Regions from separate parts of the Homo sapiens genome. Here region 2 is linked to region 1. Evidence: promoter capture Hi-C in 16 types of primary human blood cells and fetal thymus (Javierre and others, 2016). All regions are on one chromosome and are shown on one strand. The core of a region is centred on a gene start or on the middle of the fragment in contact, and the rest is flanking DNA. Distances in the headings are between cores, read along the strand shown. Region 1 holds the start of DNAJC5G (DnaJ heat shock protein family (Hsp40) member C5 gamma). Region 2 overlaps TMEM214 (transmembrane protein 214).

Region 1 (2,872 bases), core at 102-2,601:
AGAGGCTCATCTCACTTTTGGACAGCCGGTGTGCTGCTTCCTTCACAGTAGACATGATCTGAGCCAGAGGAGAAGCAGCATCTGTGAGAACTTCTACAAGTAAGGGTACCGAGAAGTGCACTTCCAGTGACAGGAAACTCACTACCTTCAGGGATTAGGCAGGTAAACGATGACAGAAGGACAAGGATAAGATAAGAGTGAGTGGGATTTGTGGCTAGCAGGAGAATTCAGGTGATCAGAAAGATTCCAATTTTAAGGAGGAAACATCTTCTCCTCACATTTCCCAGCATCCTCCAGCTACACAGACCTCTAGATATCCCACATCCTAGAGGTGTTGTAAGCAGGGAGAGGTCTAAGCCAGGAAAAGAGCCTGATTTTGTCTAGAGCTCCTATTACCTGGAGTAAACACCTCTGGGTCTGTCCAAGCTCACTGCTGGGTTTGAAAGACCAGGGCGGCCCCAGCCTGAACGGACAGGATCAGGAATCAGACAGCTCCACAACTTCTTCTTCTTTTTTTTTTTTTTGACGGAGTTTTTTGCTCTTGTTGCCCAGGCTGAAGTGTAATGGCGCGATCTCGGCTCACTGCAACCTCCACCTCCTGGGTGCAAGCGATTTTCCTGCCTCAGCCTCCCGAGTAGCTGAGATTACAGGTGCACGCCACCACGCCCGGCTAATTTTCTGTGTTTTTAGTAGAGACAGAGTTTCACCATGTTGGTCAGGCTGTTCTTGAACTCCTGACCTCAGGTGATCCACCCACCTCGGCCTCCCAAAGTCCTGAGATTACAGGCGTGAGCCATTGAGCCTCGCCGATCCACAGCTATTAAGAGAGAAACACTTCAGACCAAACCGTGTGAGGCCTAACAGAAGTCAAGTGTCCTAGAGCCTGGCGGGGGCGGGGGCGGGGGCGGGGGCGGGGGTGGGGAGTGCTTGCAGCTAGGCCTGGACTTGCTTCTTCCCTCCAGTCTCCTGCTCTCAAACCACCCCACTTCTGTCCCTCAGAGGTGGGACAGTGGGGAGAGGAGGAAGAGGACTCAGAGGCTGGAGAAGGAAGAGAAAAGGCGTTGCTGTGGGAAAGACCTGGCAAGGAAAAGGCAGCGGAACCCCAGAGAGCAGGGTAGACGCCTGCGGCCCAGGAGAACCGAGCAAGGCAAGGAGCTCAAAGGGAGAGCTCTGAGTGTGCAGGGCACCTCTGGCCCTGTGCCGACTCCTCACCTGGGTCTGGCCCTTTACCTGGGAGTCGTTCTCTTAAGCCAGGTGGGTGCCCTTCATCCTTTTGGGTGTGAAACTTCACACCGGCCGGGTCCAGCAGTTGACTGCGCTTGTGCGCAGCGTCGACGCTGAGGGTCTGGGCAGGTCGTTTTTTGGCGCCCCCGGAAGCACTGGGTGGGGAGGCCACATTGGCCCTGGGACTTATTTCGCGCGCAGGGAAGCGAGAGCGGAGGGCTTAGCAGGCCTGCGGCCCAAGGCAGCGTAGGAGCGTTGCTGCCAGGCCTTGGGGCAGGGATTCCCACCGAGCCCCTCTTCCCCAGCAGGAGGGCACCACCCATCTTGATGGCCCAACTCACTCCAGGAAACACAATGGGTTTGCTGACCGTGGCGGATGAGAGGTATGGCTGCTGCATGCCCTTCTTAAGAGGTGTGTTACCTTCCCAGTTGTCTTCAGGACTTAGGGCTCTCCGCTTGGTCCCTCCTTCTCTTCCACCCGGAAACACCTCCACAACCTGGAAGACCCAACTCATATGCCCCTGTTCCTGACACTCCATCATTCACTCTCCCAGTTGTTCCCACTTCGTCTGTCAAAGCATTTCTCCTAGTATATCGTAATGATGAGTTTGCACGTCTCATTAAAATGATGTATTGAGCCTTTTCCAAAAGTCACTACCGTGCTTCAAAAACGTCACTTAAATATGATGCCATCATGAGCATGTCCCATAATGTAACCCAACTTGGCTGTTTCAGTTGTTTCTATTTGATAATATAATAACCTTATAAGGAAAATTCAACAGAAATCCTTGAACAAATGTCTAATTTTTTTTCCTAAGGATACATTCTTAGAAGTGGAATTATTGGGTCGAAATGATTTTTTTTTTCTTTTTTCTTTTCTTTTTTTTTTACGCTCTTGATCTCTATTGCTAACTTTCTTCTGGAAAGGTAGCAGAAGGAGGATTTGTATCCCCACCTGCTGGCATGGGAGCATGCCTCTACCTGGCTTCCCTTCCTGTGAGTTTCTACAGGAGGTAGTGTTTGCATCACTTATAATTTACTACTTTGTAGTGCTGGTTTTCTTTGCAAGAGCACTCAATGGCTCCTGTAACATGTAGTAGAAAAAGCTTTGTTACTTGGAAAATGCTTATCTGTTAACCTTTTTGTAGCTTTTATCACTCTCTTCCTTTTATTACAGTTATTTGTGCACATTTTCCTCACCTTGTAGGTTTTTTTTGTTTGTTTTGTTGTGTTTTGAGGTGGAGTCTCACTCTGTCACACAGGCTGGAGTGCAGTGGCACAATGTCTGCTCACTGGAACCTCTGCCTTCCGGGTTCAAGTGATTCTCCTGCTTCAGCCTTCCAAGTAGCTGGGATTACAGGTGCCTGCCACCACGCCTGGCTAATTTTTTTTGTATTTTTAGTAGAGACGGGGTTTCACCATGTTGGCCAGGCTGGTTTCGAACTCCTGACCTCAGTGATCTACCCGCCTCAGCCTCCAAAAGTGCTGGGATTACAGGCGTGAGCCATTGCGCCAGCCCCCTTGAAGGCGTGAGCCATTGTGCCAGCCTCCTTGAAGCCATTGCGCCAACCCCCATTGCGCCAGCTCCTTCGAAGGTCACTCACCAAAAAAGAAGCTGAAGCTGATAATGTTTTTTGGTGGTTTGTCT
Region 2 (2,923 bases), core at 412-2,911, 240 kb after region 1:
GGTGAGGCTGCTGTTTCCCAATGCGGTGCTATATTCTTCTGGAAGCCCCTTTCCTTCTGCTGTGGCTAGAGCTGTGACCAAGAATGGGAACAGGAGGCTGCTAAAGTCTGGAGAAGCAGGAATCATTTGTCAGAAGAACACAGAAGCCACCTGCTGGGAGTTCTATCTTTTTAGAGATGAGCTGTTTGGGGTTTAGAAATGAGATGGAAGGAAGTGGAAGGCAGAGGGCAAGGGCGGAGTTGTGAGAGGCTACCAGCACAAGGATGGAGGCTGGGGGCCATGTGCAGTAGGGCCAGAAAAGTGTTCAGTGGAATTGTGGGTAGGAGGCTGAGATGCTGCTGGGCCCTGTCCCCACCAAAGATGGAAGAACTGAGGTGGAGGCAACTGGCCACTTGCCTAGGAGAGAACTCAGGCACCAAGTTAAAAAGACTCCCATGAAGAACTGCCACCTTCTACCCGCTGCAGTCTTGGATGGTCTACCCATGCAGAAATCAGTGGCCAGGAAGGCAGGGCCTACTGCTGGGATATCAGGGCAAGTGCCCAGTCCAAGAAAGCCACTGTAATGTCCTGTAGGCAAAGCCAGGTCCAGTGGACAGCCTCACTGAGCTGTGTCTTCATGCAGTCCCAGGTCACCTCACCTCTGGAAGGAAAGTGGAACATTTTTGAGTATGCACGTGAGTAGCTGTGTCAACTTTCGGGGATGAAAGCTTAGACCCACAACCCTCATCCCAGGGTGGCCAGGAATGGGAGCGAGGGGCAGGACAGTGTGGGAGACTGGATAGAGATGGCTTGTCCCTGGGGCCCGGGAATGGGGCTGCTGGGGATCCTGCCGGAGCCCTGGGCAAAGGTCTCACCTGCATGCCTCATGGCAGTGCTCCTGGGCCCAGGCCAGGGCCTCAAGCAAGAGGTGCCACAGTGGCAGCAGCACATTCTGGTGGAAAAGCAGGGGCAGCTCTCTCAGATAGCGGAGTAGCTGATTCACGGAATCGGGGAGCTGGATCTGTAGCTGGACCATGGAGAATGGATGGGGTCAGAGTATCCAGGGAACTGCATCCTGGCCCTAAAGACTCAGGCCACACAGTGCTGCTCCTTTCCCAGAATTCTGCTCCTGGGAAAACCAGCCCCTTATTTGACTCCCTGTCTCTGACTTACCCTCTGAGAGAGACTGGTGAGACTGTCACCAAACCACGCAAGGTGAGAGGCACAGTGGGCAGAAAGGAAGCTGACTGTGGCATTGGTGTGAGCCCAGGCCAGCTGCAAGCTGGGCCGCACCACGGTGAGCAGGTGGGAGCCCCAGAGCGGCAGTGTCTCCCCCAGCCAGCTGTGGAAGATGGAAGTGGGGGAAGAGGGCTCTGAGTCTCCTCAGGCCCACTTAGCTCCCAAGAAACAGCTGGGGAAAGGGAGGCCGTGGGAAAGGAGAATCACAAGCGCTTCCCACTGACTGTCGCCTCCTCCCTGACACCCAGGCCTTCTCTCTTCTGCCTCTCCTCTCCCCTCCCTGGGAGGAGCTCACCTGTAGCCTTGCAGACTGTAGGAGTAGAGCTTGGCACACGCTTGTTGGCTAGCAGGTAAGAAGCCAGATGATCGAAGCAACCGGCCAGTAAGGGAGGCTAAGTAAAGGGGGCCTCTGGTGAGCTGGGAGGTGAGAGGGGCAGGGACTGGGGAGACAGACACTACAGGGCCCAGAGCAGGCACAGCGAGGCGCTGGGCAGAGCTTTGTGTTCTCACAGGGCCACAAAGCCAGCTCCAGGCTGCTGTGGAGGGAGGCATGCAGAGCTGCCCTTCTCCTGCTGGGCCAGGTGTGCAGGAATGCAGCTGCCGGTTGGAGCCTAGGCTCAGGCTTCAGGAAGCCTCAGGTTGAGGGTCTGCCCTTCTACTTACTAGCTATGACCTAAAGCTAATTGCTACATCTTTCTGAGACCATTTCCTCAGGAGTTAAAAGGAGGTAACACCTACTAAAATGATACTATGAATATGCAAGCACTTCTATACTGCGAAGTCCTAGTCCAATCTGAAATGGTAGTGTCATATCTGTGGACAAAAAAATCTGTCTGTAAAGTGTTTACTCTGCAGGATTGAGAACTCGTCAGGACAAAGATGTGTGCTGCTGGGGGCGGGGTGGTGGTGCTACGTGTAGCTCTGTGCCCCGCCCACACCATCCTCCTCGCTTGCCCATTGCTGCTTACCCTGGAAGGAGCTGTGTGACCGGAGGTCATGGCACAGGAAGCCTACAGCGAAGACCAGCAGCAACAGGAGGAGCCGCGTCCAGGGCAGCCGAGGACCCTGAACCTGCTGCAACAGGCCCTGGTGGGAGGGGAGCAGGAGACAGTTGTCAGAAGCGAGGGGCTGGTCTTTGCCTCTGAGGGCAGACCTCAAGCCAGGCCTTCCCGAAAGAGCGTCAAGCCTTCACATTATCCTGGAGGCAGCGGGGGGCTCCAGACAGGTGGGGCAGGAATGTGATACAGGCCCAACCCAGGTGTGCTGAGACAGAGATGTAAGATAGCGTGTGGGCTGGAGAGGACCGGGTGCCAGCACCTTGCAGGCCATGTCACAGGTGACGACATCCTGGTTGTTACTGCTACCCTTCCTCAGCAGCTCCTGGTTGGTAAGCTTGAGGGACTGAATGGTTTCTTGCAAAGACTTCTGTACCTATGGACAAGAAAGGTCTGGCCTGTGAGGGAATCCAGAGCTTCCATCCTGCTTCATTTTCCATGCCAACAGGGTCCCTTCTCAGGGAAGGGACAGTGGCTGAGGAGCCCCCACTCAGAACCTAGAATCCAGACAGGGCTCAACCTGCCACGTCCTCCCAGCTCCTCACCTTCTTGGGAATCTGCTCCCAGGAGCTGAGCAAGTGCTCCAGCAGAAGGCTGTGGGGAAAGCACAACCCCCTAGTCAGGTGGCTCGCGCAGCCTCACCCATCCTC

Evidence for each region. Contacts are between HindIII fragments. The CHiCAGO score rates a contact against its expected background, and 5 or more counts as called.
Region 2: a fragment that was not itself captured here is called in contact with the fragment with the promoter of DNAJC5G in region 1 in 1 of 17 cell types (naive B cells); the score reaches 5.5 in naive B cells.

Annotation. Positions count from the first base shown.
Region 1 is chr2:27,273,912-27,276,783 of GRCh38, reverse strand. It overlaps DNAJC5G (DnaJ heat shock protein family (Hsp40) member C5 gamma), which reads right to left and starts at 1,351. Exons shown (of 7, transcript NM_173650.3): 1 at 1,231-1,351; 2 at 397-678; 3 at 1-58. The coding sequence starts at 55. It also overlaps a transcript of SLC30A3 not described here. The HindIII fragment of the contact is 3,678 bases long and covers 1-2,332 here.
Region 2 is chr2:27,038,428-27,041,350 of GRCh38, reverse strand. TMEM214 (transmembrane protein 214) reads right to left here. Exons shown (of 17, transcript NM_017727.5): 11 at 2,819-2,867; 12 at 2,536-2,649; 13 at 2,187-2,304; 14 at 1,514-1,610; 15 at 1,153-1,321; 16 at 855-1,006; 17 at 1-640. The coding sequence ends at 514. Among named protein-coding and RNA genes, the nearest start is that of TMEM214, 6.9 kb to the right of the region's middle. RefSeq lists an enhancer at 1,342-2,541. The HindIII fragment of the contact is 1,903 bases long and covers 710-2,612 here.